Regions from separate parts of the Homo sapiens genome. Here all the other regions are linked to region 1. The links are contacts of gene promoters, found by promoter capture Hi-C in blood cells and fetal thymus (Javierre and others, 2016). All regions are on one chromosome and are shown on one strand. Each heading gives the region's core, a stretch centred on a gene start or on the middle of the fragment in contact. The rest is flanking DNA. Distances are from core to core; before and after follow the strand shown. Region 1 holds the start of SMARCA2 (SWI/SNF related BAF chromatin remodeling complex subunit ATPase 2). Region 2 overlaps RCL1 (RNA terminal phosphate cyclase like 1). Region 3 holds the start of CDC37L1 (cell division cycle 37 like 1, HSP90 cochaperone).

The links. The method cuts DNA at HindIII sites, captures the fragments that hold promoters and counts their contacts. A CHiCAGO score of 5 or more calls a contact.
Region 2: a contact is called between a fragment that was not itself captured here and the fragment with the promoter of SMARCA2 in region 1, in 1 of 17 cell types (neutrophils). The highest score is 6.2, in neutrophils.
Region 3: a contact is called between the fragment with the promoter of CDC37L1 here and the fragment with the promoter of SMARCA2 in region 1, in 2 of 17 cell types (fetal thymus and non-activated CD4 T cells). The highest score is 7.9, in fetal thymus.

What each region holds. Positions count from the first base shown.
Region 1 is chr9:2,012,157-2,017,258 of GRCh38, forward strand. SMARCA2 (SWI/SNF related BAF chromatin remodeling complex subunit ATPase 2) reads left to right here and starts at 3,191. Exons shown (of 34, transcript NM_003070.5): 1 at 3,191-3,248. RefSeq lists enhancers at 351-480, 2,691-2,740, 2,801-2,850, 3,637-4,193 and silencers at 2,901-3,240, 4,381-4,550, 4,851-4,960. The HindIII fragment of the contact is 4,329 bases long and covers 2,375-5,102 here.
Region 2 is chr9:4,796,195-4,801,296 of GRCh38, forward strand. The region is part of intron 1 of RCL1 (RNA terminal phosphate cyclase like 1); the gene reads left to right. Among named protein-coding and RNA genes, the nearest start is that of RCL1, 5.8 kb to the left of the region's middle. RefSeq lists enhancers at 2,095-2,389, 2,124-2,173. The HindIII fragment of the contact is 8,229 bases long and covers 1-5,102 here.
Region 3 is chr9:4,676,815-4,681,916 of GRCh38, forward strand. CDC37L1 (cell division cycle 37 like 1, HSP90 cochaperone) reads left to right here and starts at 2,755. Exons shown (of 7, transcript NM_017913.4): 1 at 2,755-3,085. The coding sequence starts at 2,954. CDC37L1-DT (CDC37L1 divergent transcript) reads right to left here and starts at 2,666. Exons shown (of 2, transcript NR_121598.1): 1 at 2,573-2,666. RefSeq lists an enhancer at 2,889-2,978. The HindIII fragment of the contact is 3,086 bases long and covers 1,411-4,496 here.

The DNA.
Region 1 (5,102 bases), core at 1,941-4,440:
TGATTCAATTTGTCAAATCTTGGTTTCCATTACTGAAGATGAAATACTCACTGCCTAAACGGTCTTACCTGCTCGTGTTTGAAGCTAGGCAACATTTCAGGCAGCATTAACAGTTTGTCTGTTGGGACTAGAAGCTTCCTAACGTTGTGCATGGAATTTTTCTTTATGAGGGTGTTGTATCCAGATACCAAGTTTTAAACCCAGTATCTACTCTATACAGAATGTAACCAAAGCAGACTTACATAACAAGTGAATGTGGCCATACAGACATGAAAAAGTGACTTCTATCTTTTGATACCAAACTAGAAAGAGAAAAGCAAGTTCAGAGAACACATTATGACTCATCAAAGTCCAAAAAGAAAAGCTGCGTGTGAACGTAGCACCCTGTGCAGCCTCCTGGAGTCCTTTTACCCTCCAACCACATTTGCTTTTGTATGATTTTCTGCAAAACAAAACAAAAAAAACCCATCATTTTCCTCCTTAACTTCAATTGTTAAATTTCGTTTTACCTCAGAGGTGAAACTCATGCTATATGTTCTACAATCTTCTTTTTGTACCAAGTGAATGACGCTGCCTTTTCATTTCTCCTGTGTTGAGGCCTTATTTTATAAAATTCGTAACTGCTAGGGTACAAACTACAAACAAGACGAATTTTTAGAGGAACAACTTGAAGGGTGATGGGGGAAGGTGGTGCTTTCTTAGACCAATGCGAAGGGAGAGGGAGATGCAATATCTATATTTAATCTCTGTTCCCAACGATGTATTTTAATTCCCATAGCTGTGTGTATACAATGCGTGGATACCAACGCCTCCAAGGACAACATCAAAATTTTATATGAGCTGAAGAATATACACATATAACAAAGGGAATGTTTTCTTCTTTACTTTCCCTGTGACAAAATGCCAGAAGGAATGGACAGTTTCTTTCTCCAGGGACTTACTAATTGATTTGTTTTTGTTTTTGTTTTTTTGAGGATTTGCATGGCAAGTGGAAGTAGAATCTTAAGGGGATAAAGGGCATTTATTCACAAGGGAATAAAAGTGAAGTTATCAATTTCTGAAAATTGGCATGTGAGGCCGGCATGCCAGAGAAACAAATTAGACCCCAAAAAAATTAAAACCTAATACTCTCAATGTAATAAGCATTGCTATTAGGTTAAATCTCTTTATTAGAGACAGGTAGGTTATCTGGCTATATTATTAGTTGCGACTTATTAGGCAGTTAGAAGTTAGTATTTATGTTACACTTTTACTATACTACTAGTCTTGTTTAAAATTTCTCCCTATATATTTCTCAGTTAATAGTTATACCGGCATATCCTCAGGCAGAAAAACAAGTTCTTACAATGGATCCTTCAGGGCACACTATATTCTATTTCTCTTAGCTGTGTTATCTTTCGTTGTCTTGAGGTTCACTTCAAGATAGACAGAAAATGATGAAGCTAAAGTTAACAAGCAAGTAGCAAGACCTTAGAAAGCTATAGGGTGGGTGATCACCAACACTCCCAGCCATCATGAAAATGCTGCCCTAGTGGGCTCTGCTTCAGCCAGCAGTGGACCAGTGATATAAAGAATTCTTGCTTCTTAATGACTACATGGCAGTATTTGGCGTTCTTTCCATTACTTCTTGTCTTCAACTTATCCAGCCTGAAGTTTTAAGCATCCTAGAACTGCATTTCAGACCCAGTTGCTCAAATGGAGTCAATTTTGCAACAGTAAAATGGTCTTAAAATAGGATTTTACTCTAGGGGGAAGAATCCTCAACCAGATAGTCACAGTGCACTTTGAATGACTAATTTAAGCCATTACATTACGAAATAAGGGATAAATCATACTTTTCATAACACTACTGCATAGGAACAGTTTTAAGAGTCAAGCATCTACATTAATCTGAGTCTAAAATAATAGGCCCCTGATTTAAAGTCTCCTAACATTCTTTCACACTTCATAAAACTAAAAATAAAATTGTCTCACCAAACACCGACCTATTGGTCCGGCCAAAGTACTGTATTTCAAGGAAAATTGGAGCAAAGAGGTCTCAAAACCGCGACTTGCCAGCAAATTACAATTTGCAGCCTTAATTGGTCTCAAATGCGGGGTGAGAGGGAAGAGACTACGGTCTGTAGAAAATAAGAGATTTATTCCCCTTTTTAAATCAAAACCAGATTCCATGCTTCAGCCGCCCCCTAACCCGCCAGCCCCGCCCCCAGGGTTTGTTTTTCCATATTTTTGTATATATTTTAGCGAAGATGGCAGGTGAGGGAAGGTTATAGTGCTGTACCTAGTCCACGAAGTAAACAGAGAGGTTAGGGTGGGTTTACTTATTTATAAGGCGTTCAGCCTCTCAGCTGTTTCTCCCTCGTTGGCATTTGGAAGCTTGCAGTCCTTCAGGGAAGAGACAGATTTGGCAGGAACGTTCTTTGTGCCCGCCTCCCTTTTCTATTTTTTATTTTTTTACCTGGAATAGGGGGCAGATTTATAATGACAGCCTTAGGGAAGGGGGAGAAAAAGTTTCAGCCGGCACGACAATGCCCGTTTTTTCCACAGTCCACACTGTGCCACAAACAGCTTTGGTGCCACTCGGAGCCCGTCCCCCGTCCCCTCCCTCTCTCTCTGCAGGCTCGCACTGGCAGGCGGAGGCACAGTTAAATTCCAGCACCTTCTCCACATACCCCCGAACTACTACGCGCTATTACTACGGCTGCCCTCCGTTTTCGCTTCGCCTCCTCCCCTTCCGCAGTCTCCCTGGAGGAGCCCCGCGGCGCCCGAGGAAGAGGACTGCCAGGGAAGGGACAGCGGGCGCCCAGCTCCAGCAGGGCTTGGGGCTTTCTGCATCCCGCGCAGTTTCTCTGCTCCAGGCACAAACGCGGCCCGAGAGCCGGCGCCTTGCAGTCACACACGGATCCACGCATACAGTAGAGCTGTCTAGATCCACATTCTTGCACACCGCCCCCTCCTCCCCCCGCGCTCCCGGAGTCGCTGAGCTGAGCGAGTGACAGGCGCGTCCCGCCAACCCGCGCCCGGACGGGCAGGGAGGAGCGGCGCGCGGGGCCAACTGCGGCGCGTCTTCCGGCGCCCGCGGAGGAGGCGAGGGTGGGACGCTGGGCGGAGCCCGAGTTTAGGAAGAGGAGGGGACGGCTGTCATCAATGAAGTCATATTCATAATCTAGTCCTCTCTCCCTCTGTTTCTGTACTCTGGGTGACTCAGAGAGGGAAGAGATTCAGCCAGCACACTCCTCGCGAGCAAGGTAAATATAACTTACAACTCTTTTCTCCTCTTTCCCCTCCCTTCGGCCGCCCCGCTGCAGCCGCCGCTCAGACCCCTCCGGCACCACGCCGCCTTCGCCCGGGATTATCCATTATTATCCTAATTATTATTTATTGTGCATGCAAGGAGACCAAAACAAACAGGCGGGCCAACCGCCGCGACAAAAAAAAGCCCGCCTCCTCCCCGCGGGCCTCAGGTGGAATGCTCTAACGACAGCTCCCAGGCGGCGGTGGAAGAAACGAGAAAGTTTCAACCGAACCTTGCTGTTCTAATAATAACAGTAATAATTACTACTTCAAGGGGGCAAAGGAGGAAAAAAATCCCAACAAGCCACAGCCTTGATCCTGAGTGGGCAGTCAGAGGCGCTGCCAACTCAAGGTTGCAACACACACATTGGGCCAGGTTGCAATCCCCCCATCCCCTTAAAAGTGAGGCGGCGGGGAGGGGGGTGGCCGCAGGAGGGGGAAGGCCTGGGGGACAGGGGAGGAGGATGGAAACGCTACTGTTCATCCCGGGCAACCCTCCCCGGAAGAGTTGGAAGGGGAACGGGAAAGGAGGGCGGGGAGCCCAGGCTGGCGGCGGGGCGCCAACGGACGCTGTTGCCACCCGCTTCCCAGGGACTTGTTCAAAGGGCTCCGGCTGCGGAGACGTGAGCGGATCGCAGCGGGAGAAGCCTGAGCTGACGCGCGAAGGAGGTAGCGGCCACTGCCGCGGGGCCGGTGCGTGCCTGATCGGAGGTGTCACCTCCACTTTCCGCGTTTCCTCCGGCGTGGATGGGGAGGCTGATTGGTAGGCAGGCCTTTAGGCAAAGGGGCTGCCAGGGGGCTGCGCCCCGGGCGCTGCGGACGTCCCTGCCTCTGGTACCTGGCGGCAGCGCAGGCTCGGGTGTTAAAGTTCGGGATGTCCGGCCCGGGCCGCACTGCTGGAGGGAAGGGAGGAGGCCCCCAAGGAGGTCGGAGGTGCCCGCCAGCCTCCGTTACCCTGCCCTCCCTCTCCCCGGGTCCGTGTTCTTTTGCTTCGCGTCTTCCCCTTGCTTGCGCCGCGGGAGCTGCGGGCGTGGGGCGCCTGCGATCGTCCGGGTGCTAGGGGCGCGCCGGGACCCAGGAGAGCCACGGCGGCGGCTGCGGGCCCGGGAGGCCATGATCCGGATAATCCTGTCTGCCTGACTGTCACAAACAGGACCCGCGCACCACCGGGCAGCGGCGGTGTGGTTCGCCCGGGAAGGGGAAGGGCTGCGGTGGGGAGGGAATAGGGGGGTGGCGAGGGCGGGAGGCGGGGAGACCGGGTAGGAGCCTCCTCCCAACGATGACACGCACTCCTTCCTTCTCGCTCCCTGCTCAGGAGTTTGCTTTATTCCCATCCCAACCTGGTTTACCCCTTCCTTTGCTCTCCCCCTCCACCCGGCCGTCTTCCCTTCCTCCCGTTTGCGTTGCAAAACACGGCCATGCCATCTGCAAAGGTGTCGCGATGCACTTCCCTAAATAACCGGTCCGGCGCGCCAGCCCCTCGGCGCCCTCCGGCCGCAGGGCGCACACGGAGCACAGTGCTCCCGGTGCCCCGCACCAGGCCTCGCAGCCTGGGTGCAGTTACACGGCGGAGGGCGGGGCGCGGCAGTGCGGGCTCCGGCGGACACCCGCGCCTTGGCCGGGGCACTTGGGCCGGTTTCCGGTACACGCGGGGAAATCGCCTCCTGCCAGTGTCTGATCGCTCGCCTCCGCCTCCGCCTCTGCCGCCTGGATTGCATTATTATTTTTATCCGGGTTGCCGTTTGCTGCGGATGGTGGTGAGCGCGGGGCTGGCTGGGCTGCTTGGGGGGTGGGGTGGAGGGAAGTTG
Region 2 (5,102 bases), core at 827-3,326, 2.8 Mb after region 1:
GAACATCGTACCCAATAGGTAATTTTTCAATCTCCCTCAATCTTCCTCCTTTTCCAGTCCCCAATGTTTGTTATTTCCATGTTTAAGTCCATGTGTATCCATTGTTCAGCTCCCACTTATAAGTAAGAACATGGAGTATTTGATTTTCTGTTTCTGAATTAGTTCTCTTAGGATAATGGCCTCTAGCTCCATGTTGTTGCAAAGGACATTATTTCATTCTTTTTTTTGAGACAGAGTCTCACTCTGTCATGAGTGCAGTGGTGTGATCATGGCTCACTGTAGCCTCAACCTCTTGGGCTCAGGTGATCCTCTCACGTTAGCTTCCTGAGTAGCTGGAACTACAGATGTGTACCACAGCATCTAGTTGATTTTTAAAATTTTTTTTGTAGAGATGGGGTGTTGTCTATGTTGCCGAGGCTGGTCTTGAACTCCTGGACTCAAGCAGTCGTCCTGCCTCAGCCTTCCAAATTGCTGGGATTACAGGCATGAATAACCATGCCCAGCCTGATTTCATTCTTTTTTATGGCTGTGTAGTATTCCATAGTGTATATATACCACATTTTCTTTATCTAGTCAACCATTGGTGGACACTTAGGTTAGTTCCATCACTTTGGTATTGTGAATAGTGCTGCAATAAACATACAAGTACAGGTGCCTTTTTTGTATAATGATGTCTTTTCCTCTGGGTAGATACCCAGTAGTGGAATTGCTGGGCCATATGGTAGTTCTATTTTTAGTTCTTTGAGAAATCTCCATATGAAAGAAACAGTTTTTAAGTCAAAAAGTTCTTTATTTTCTTTATTTTACTGAGGTAAAATCCTTAATTTGTCATGGTCATAATACTTGGCAATTAAGAGCTTGGGGTCAGTATTGGACCTTGGTTTGAGTACGAGTTCTGCCTTTCGCTATTAGCTCTTGGTCCTTGGGCAAATTATTTTAACTATTCTCTTCTGAGCCTCAACTTTTTCACCTGTAAAGTGGGGCCAGTACTACTGACTTCACAGGGTTATTGTGAGGACTAAATGAAATAATACTTCAAAGTGTACTGAACAGTGCCTGGCACATAGGAAGAATAAATGTTAGCTGATTTTATTATTATGTAGCTTGAACCCACTGGGTATAGGTCTGCTCCCTGGCATGCCAAATCCGTTCCTGCTTCTATATGGAAATTTTTCAGATATTTGAAGAGAATTATGCCTTCTGTAAAGTTCTTCTCCTAGGTGGTTGTTTCCACGTATTTCTATGTTATATGTAAAGCACAGTAGTTTTCAACCAGGGGCACTTTTGTTCAGTGGGGGACATTTGGGAGCATTTGGAGACATTTTTGGTTGTCACAGCTTGGCAGAGGGGAATGCTACTGGCCTCTAGTGGTTAGAATCCAAGGGTGCTGCTAAATATCCTACAGGACAGCCTCCCACAACAAAGAATTATCCATTCAAAATGTCAGTAGTGCTGATGTAGAAAAACCCTGGCCTACTTGACAGTAGTAATTAAACCTTTTCTTTTCCCTGTATCCCTAATGATTAGGAATAGCAGCATGTGACACCAAGAAGACTACACAAGGATTTAGAAACAAATGAGACACAGATCAAACTCTGTGACTTCAGGCAAATCATTGAATCTCTTAAAACTGTCCCCTTCCATTGCAAAGGGGTTGTAAATACTGAAAGGAATCTGAACCCCAAAGAAGGATGGTCCCGGGCTGGTGATTATAATTGTCCAGCCACATGTATAATTTATGCTTCCGTTTTGAGGAACATGAACAATTAAGTTTATCTCATTGTACTCTTCCTTTCATTGAAGAGGAAGTAAATATTTTTTCTTGTTGCTGCTGTTTTACTCAAGGTAAAAAAGCCAACCCGTAGTTAGGTAAGATAGTTGGTGAAGACAAACGTGTAGTGAGGGACAGAGCTGGAAAGAGAATGTGGCCAGCTCCTGCCTGAAGGACCTGTTCTCTCTCATTTCACAGCGTGATGGACCTGGGTGTTCCTCATCAGTATTATAAAGCAGCTGTCCAAAGTGCCTCTATCTCTGGATTTCATGAGGACTGTGTCCTGCAGGGTTCAGTTTAACAGTCTCTGTATAATGTGAGGTCTAAATGGAAGAGAATCCCACCAGAATAATTGTTTAAAGTTGGAATAGCAGAAATAATGGACTTGAACAAGAGCAGTGACATAGGAGTCAGAAGACAGGACTGCTACTACCCAGGATCCTGAGCAGGTCATGTAACTAAGCCTTAGTGTCTTCCCCTGTGAAATTGAGAGGAGTTACTTGGTCCCATGGGGGAGTGCTCCATATGGCTTAAGCAGATAAGATTCTGAAAAAGAAGAGCTAAGTGGAGTTTTAATCAAAAGGGTCCTTTAAAATGTGCTGAGGAAGCATGCCACAAAGAGGTCCTTTGAAAGGTAAAACATGTTTTGGTAAACCAGTGCATTGTTTTGGGAATAAATCTGGCTGTTCCTAACTTGGATCCTTTAAAAGGAGGATGTGCCTATATTTTATTTCGGCCTGGTTTGGGACCCAGAATTCTTGATGGACAACTGGTTTTGGGGCGTAACAGATAACTTTACTACTAACTGTAGATTGAATATGTCCTGTTAATCAGGAACATACCCTTTTGTGCCTCTGATGACAAAGTATGCTTCCAAGTGATGATTTTTGGCTGCCCAAAATAAGACTTCTTCTTTTTTTTTTTTTTTTTTTAAAGGCAAATGCCAAGAATCCTAATGACCAGTTTTCAGATACAGTGTTGTTTGGAAGCTGTTGTATAAATGCCTTGCCTTTTCTTTTCTTTTCTTTTCCTCTCTCCCTCCCCTTCCCTCCCTCCCTGTCTTCTTTCCCCCTTCCCCCCTCTCTCCCTCCCCCATCCCTCTCCCCCTCCTTCTCTCCTTCCCTCCCCTTCCTCTCCTTCCTCTTTTTCTCCCTCCCTTCCTTCCTCTCTTTCTCTTTTCTTCTTTTTCTTAGAGATGGGATCTCACTATGTTGATCAGAGTGATCTCAAACTACTGGCGTCCAGTGAGCCTTCTGCCTAACTGTCCCAAAGTGCTGAGATTACAGGCAAGAGCCACAGTGCCTGGCCGTAAGTGCTACTTCAGATGGAACTATCTACCATCTTTTTTAAGAAAACAAACTTTTTATTTTGAGATAATCGTAGATTCACATGCAGTTGTAATAAATAATGCAGAAAGATCCTGTCTGTACTTTATCCAGTTTCCCCCAATGGTGATATATGGAAAAACTATGGTACAATGTTAGAACTAGGATATTGACATTGATACAGTGAGATACAGAACATTTCTGTCACTCCAAGGATTCTTCATGTCTGTTGCTCTTTTGTAGCCACACTCAGTTTCCTCCTTCCCCCACTTCTTCCTTAACCCTTGTCAGTCTCTAATCTGTTCTTTAATTTCTGTAATTTTGTCATTTGAAGACTGCTCCATAAATGGAATCATATAGTATGTAACCTTTGGATTGGCTTTTTTCTGTTTTCTTAAATTTTATATTATAAATTAAAAAAATTTTTAAAAAGAAAAAACTTGAAGGGCCTTGAATGAGTCCTGTATTTTTATTTTTTGTCACTACCTCCCTGGGTTGGGAGTGGGTAATTTGCATGCTTGCTACCTTCCTTGGATGTGGTAGCCATTTCTCAGACTCTGACTCTGGAATCAAACCCTGATTCCCTGTCACCCATGGTCACCGTGGTAGGCATGGTGACTATCATCAAAAGTTGATATGGCAGACGTTCATATGGGTTGTTGCTGCCACATGGGAGTGTGTGATTAGCCTGAGGTTATCTAGAGTCACTATAAGGACTGGCTTTTTTTCAGTCAGCATGATTCTCTGGAGATTTATCTAAGATGTTTTTATCAAGTTTGTTCCCTTTTGTTGCTGAGTAGTATTTCATGGTATGAAAAGATCACAAGTCTTTTTATTTACCTGTTGAAAAACATGTAGGTTGTTTCCAGTTTTTGGCTATCTCGAATAAGGCTGCTATAAAAATTTGTGGACAGGTTTTTCTTTTTTTTTTTATTTTTATTTTTTATGGTGTCTAGCTCTGTTGCCCAGGCTGGAGTGCAGTGGCACGATCTTGGCTCACTGCACCCTCCCACTCCCGGGTTCAGGCGATTCTCCCACCTCAGCTTCCCGAGTAGCTGGGATTACAGGCACCCACCACCATGCCCAGATAATTTTTGTATTTTTAGTAGAGACGGGGTTTCGGCACGTTGGCCAGGCTGGTCTCGAACTCCTGATCTTAGGTGATCCACCCACCTCAGCCTCCCAAAGTGCTGGGATTACAGGTGTGCACCACCATGCCCAGCCAGGTTTTTTTATTTTTTTATGTGAACATAGTCTTCCTTTCTCTGGAATAAATGCCCAGGAGTGCTCTTGCAGGGTTGTATGGTAGTTGCATGTTTAGTTTTTTAAGATATTGCTGCCCTGTTTTCCAGTGTGGATGTATTTTTTTTTTTTTTTTTTGAGATGGAATCTCGCTCTGACTTCCAGGCTGGAATGCAGTGATGTGATCTTGGCTCACTGCAACCTCCGCCTCCCAGGTTCAAGTGATTCTCCTGCCTCAGCCTCCAGAGCAGCTGGGATTACAGGTGTGCACCACCACACCTGGCTAATTTTTTATATTTTTGGTAGAGACGGGGTTTCACTGTGTTGGCCAGGCTGGTCTCCAACTCCTGACCTCAAGTAATCCTCCTGGCTCGGCCTCCCAGAGTGCTGGGATTACAGGCGTGAGCCACCACACTGGCCTGGATGTACCATTTTATATTCCTATCTGTAGTGTATGAGGGATTCAGTTTCTCTGCATCCTTTCTAGCATTTGGTGTTGTCACTACTTTTATTCTGATAGGTATGTAGTGATGCCCCAGGGTGGTCTTAATTTGCGTATTACAAATGACTAATGATGTCTTAAGTGAAACATCTTTCCAAGTCTTTTGTCCATTTCTAATAGGATTGTTTGTATTAACTGTTTTGTTTTGTTTTTTTGAGATAGGGTCTTGCTTTTTCATCCAGGCTTGAGTACAGTGACACGATCATGGCTCACTACTGCCTCAGCTTCCTGGGCGTAAGCAAATCTTTCATCTCAGCCTCCC
Region 3 (5,102 bases), core at 1,505-4,004, 2.7 Mb after region 1:
TCTTCCTTTCCTTTTCCTTTCCTTCCCTTCCCTTCCCCTCCCCTCCCCTCCCCTCCTTTTCCTTTCCCTTCCTTTCCTTTCTTTCTTTTGCGACACAGTCTCGCTCTGTCACCCAGGTGGAGTACAATGCTGTGATCTCAGCTCACTGCAACCTCCACCTCCCGGGTAGCTGGGATTACAGGCATGCACCACCAGGTCTGCCTAATTTTTGTATTTTCAGTAGAGACGGGGTTTTGCCATGTTGGCCAGGCTAGTCTCGAACTCCTGGCCTCAAGTGATCCACCCGCCTTGGCCTCACAAAGTGCTGGGATTACAGGTGTAGGCTACCACGCCTGGCCTGAACCTGAATATTTAATGACATCTTCAAACTGCTAAGCCTATCCTGGGATCATTCTTTTTGTTACATACACAATAAATGTCCTTATAGTTTAGGTTTCTTTTAGCTGAGGTTTCAGTTATTTGCATTGAAAGCATATAATTGATATAGCAGGGGTGAGACATGATATGATTTATGTATTTTTTAAAAATCTCTCTGGCAACAGTATGAAGAGATTGTAAGGAGCAAGAATGGAACAGAAGCATGGAAGACTACTGCAGTAGTTCTGAGAAGCAATCATAGTGTTCTGGCCTAGGGAGTATGCAGTAAAGCAGGAAAGAACATAGATTCAAGATGTATTTGGGGGTAAAAACAGTAGGACTTGCTGTTGGTATGAGAGGTAAAGGAGAGGGAGGAACTAAGGCTGAACTCTAGGTTTTGGACTGGATGGTGATGCCATTGATTGACACGGAGAAGACCCAAAGAAGTTTGGGGAAGGCGGTGAGATCAAGGGTTTGGATGTGTTAAATTTAAGATGTGTATGAACCATTAAAATGAGATGACAAATCAGCGGGTAGACATGAGTCTGGAGCACAGGGGTAAGGTCAGGACTTGGATTTCAATTTGAGAATTATAGATACACAGATGTTATTTAAAGCCACAGGAATAAACAGGATTCTCCTCACTGGCCAAAATATGAGGAACTCTAAAGTTAGAGGTCAGCTAGAAGGGAAGAAGACTGAGGAGAAGTAGTGAAAGAGGTAGGAGAAAAACTAACAGCATTAGCGTTTATATAGGGCTTACTTTATGCCAGGCACTATTCAAAGCACTTTGTGGCTTCATGGAAGCAAAGAGAAAAATGTTTTTCTTTTCTTCCTCCCTTTCCAGTCTCTCCTGTGACTTTCACCCCTAAATTCAAAAGGTTTAGGTGCAAAAGTGATTCTCAGCTTTTATTTGTAATTAATTTTATAGTAATCTTGTACTGTTATAATCTTGTACTGTTATAATACTATAATTATAGTATACATTCATTGGAAAAATATTCAAACAGCACAGTACAGGGAAGCTAAATGTGGAAAGTAAAGATCCTCAGAAGCTTTCCTTCCTAGGCTCACCCACCAGAGGTAATCATTAACAGTTTCTTGCATATCCTCCAGGAATGTTCTGCGCAAACACACACACACACACACACACACACACACACACACACGGACGCAAACAAATACCATCCCTCTCTCTTCTCTCTCTGTATACGTACGCATATGTTTAATTCTGCAAGTTGCTTTGTTTAAAACTCAATACCTTTTGGAGGTATTTATATATCAGCATATTCAGATACAATTTACTTTTTTTAAAAAGGGTAATATGCCATTGTATTAATATTCCATACTTTAAGTTCCTCTATCGATGGACAATTAGAATGCTTTTTTTTTTCTTGCCACACACACACAAAAATTGCTGCCAGAAATCTTTGTAGTAAATCTTTGGATATTGGTGCAAAAATAATTGTTGCATACTTTCTTAGTGGTGAAATTGCTGAATCAATCCGCTCAAGCCTCTCATATTGTCAAATTACTCCTCCTAAAAGGTTATACTAATGACATTCTCACATCATTTCCTTACATCTTGGTACACATTTGGTATTAAGCGACTTCACAAGTTTGCCAGTCTAAACACATGGAAAAAAATGGCGTCATGTTGTTTTTATTTGGGTCTCTTTATGAGTAGGGCAGCAAGACCTGATTGTTAAACGTTCAAGTTTTGAAGTTAAACTCCCTGGGTCTGGATCCTACTTCTTCCTTGTAAAATGTGTGATCTCGGGCATGCTGGGTCTACTTCCTCGTCTCAAAAAAAGAGGATAAAGAGAGTACATATCTTTAGGCTTAAACAAGATACGCAGGCATACAGGAAGCCCTTCTTATGCGTTCGCTACTAGCGGTACTGATCCTAATTTTTTTGAAGCCGTGCCGGCTCCGGTACTTTATTTTTGGTGTGCTCCTCCAACCAACCAAGTTTCGCAGAATTCTGTTGTTGCCTGTAATTAGAAATGAGACGAAAATTGGCTCCGCTTGTTCAAAATTCTCCTCCCTCCGCCCCAACTCTGCCTTAGAATCACTGGTTTAAATGTCAATGTAAAGGAATGAGTTGCAATTTTTAAGCAACATGTAAAGTGCACACCTGGTCTGAGTACCTCCCGGCGGCCAGGACCCGCCGTTTTCGGTATAGGGAACACCAGATAACAATATATAACGCTACCTAACAAACGTTTCTCCACCCACAGCGCCATTAGCGGTTAGGTTTGCAGTGCCGAAGAGCTGCAAGAAAACGGGGCTTGAAACAGGAATACAATTGCAGATCCACCCACTACACGCAAAGGGCCCGGGACGCGCCTCCACAGCCCCGCCCCAACCGGAAGTGACGCACCGCGCCGACTATTTCTTCCGCCGTCCGCCGGTGGCGAGGCCCAGGCTGTCGCCGGGTGTGCAGCGGCGTCGCGGCCAGTAGAGGGATTCTGGGTAACGGCCCGGACCCCCGGCTGGGCTTCTGGCTCGGCGCAGCAGGTTCCATTCACGCCAAGTCTGTTGGCAGTGGCAGTTGTAGGGCCAAGGGCGGTTGTAGGACCCGGAGCAGCCGGACATGGAACAACCGTGGCCGCCTCCGGGACCCTGGAGCCTCCCTCGGGCCGAGGGTGAGGCTGAGGAAGAGAGTGACTTCGACGTGTTCCCCAGTTCTCCCCGCTGCCCGCAGCTGCCAGGCGGCGGCGCCCAGGTGAGAAGGGGCCTGCGTTCTGCGGAGGGATGGAGTGGTGCTGTCGCCAAACCCCTGGAATGCCGCGTCTCCCAGACCCTCTTCTACGCCTTTTTCTACGCCCACCTCACTGCCAGGGGCCGGGGACCTGGGACCTGACGCCTGATGCCATCCCACCCCTTTTATGGCATCTTCGGAGGGCAGACGGGGTGGCCATATATTACCAACCTCCACCTCCACGCACATGTTTTCTTTCGCCTTGGCTGATTCCTGTTCACTCTTGGAATACCTTCCTCCATCTCCCCTTCCTGACAGCACTCAGATTTGGGGCGGCTCATGCTGTAACATTGACCCTTTGTCCTCTTGTGAGAGGTTTTCCCCAAGCACTTTATTCTGTTAAAGGCTCTAGCATACTTGTGCACAGTTGCTAGGAACAGTGAATGATTGTAGTTCAGCATCACACTGAGTCCTGACAAAGATTTCACATGCGATTTTCACCGATGTTGACAACTGAGTAAATTCTTTAAATCTCGCTTTTGACGCTGGCGTACACCTCTCCCATTCGCGTGACCATCTTTGCCTTACTGTTTTGTTTTTTAGTTTTGCTTCACGTCATTCTCCAGTGAAAATATATACGCATATACTTGTGTTTTCCTTCAGACTTCTCTTAGGTTCCTGGTATTGTGTTTTCAATCCAGCATTCCTGCCTTCCTGCGACTGAAACGTATCCAAATGTGATATACTATTAAGGATTTTTCAGGGACCTATCTTAGGGGATACTTACATACTCGCATCACCTTGTCCTGTTTTTTTCTCCGAATCCGTGTGTGTTTTGGAAGTATATTTCAGAATCACAGACTAAACACTAATATATTCAATGGATCATAAGTGTCTGCCGCCTTCTTGCAAAATGGGGTTCCCAAGAGTGTAACAGATTTAATAGTAGTTTTCCTCTCAACTTATTTTGCTAGATGTTAATGAGAATGAGTTAAATTGCTTACCAGTAAGCGTGACATTATCAATCTTATGTCCAGCTAACAGGGTTAGTTGGCTTCACACAGAGAAAAATGCTGTTTCATAACCACTGTCTGTACTTTGGCCAGCTAAGTCACTGGGGAACTACAAGACATTTTTTAGGAGGACAGAATGAGAGTTGATGGGTCCATCATTAGTCACCCACTAATTTTGGATCACTAGTGTCATCTTTATATACAAAATGTATTATAAGCACATGATGTGCTAGGGAGGAAAGAAGAATGAACAGCAGATGCCATTGTCAATTTTGAAGGCATATGAAGAGAAAAAAGGGTGTCAAGAATTTCAGTGCATTGTGGTTGAATTACAGAAGTAATCTAGAGAAATATCTGTATGTTAATTTCTTACTTGTGCACTTCTAAATTTGTTTAGCTGGAAGAGATTTTAGAAGTGAGTAAGCTTATCTCTCTCATTAAAAGTGTTTTCCCTGAGGCCATGTAACTAGTTAGTGGCCAGGTTAAAACTAGAACCCACTTATGACTCCTAGTCCAGTATATTTTCCCACCTACTGCACTGCCCACCAGAGTTCGAGACCAGCCTGACCAACATGGAGAAACCCTGTCTCTACCAAAAATACAAAATCAGCCTGGTGTGGTGGCGCATGCCTGTGATCCCAGCTACTCGGGAGGCTGAGGCAGGAGAATTGTTGGAGGCAAAGGTTACAGTGAGCCGAGATCACACCATTGCATTCCAGCCTGGGCAACAAGAGCGAAACTCTTGTCTCAAAAAAAAAAATTTTTTTTGCAAACTGATTATTAATTCTGAGTTCATGTGTTTATTACAAACCTACTTATTGGTCTTACTGGCTTTAAGACTTAAATTTTTGGATTGGAATATTTGGAAAAAATAAAATGTTTAATTGATTAACATTTTATAATCCTAAAAAAAGCTTTGGCTTAATTTTATCAAATAAGGGGGATCTAGACTTCTTAATGTAGTATGTGATATGTAGTTCTTAGATCCAATTAATGTAAAGGCAGATCATGTTTAATGTCCCTCTAAA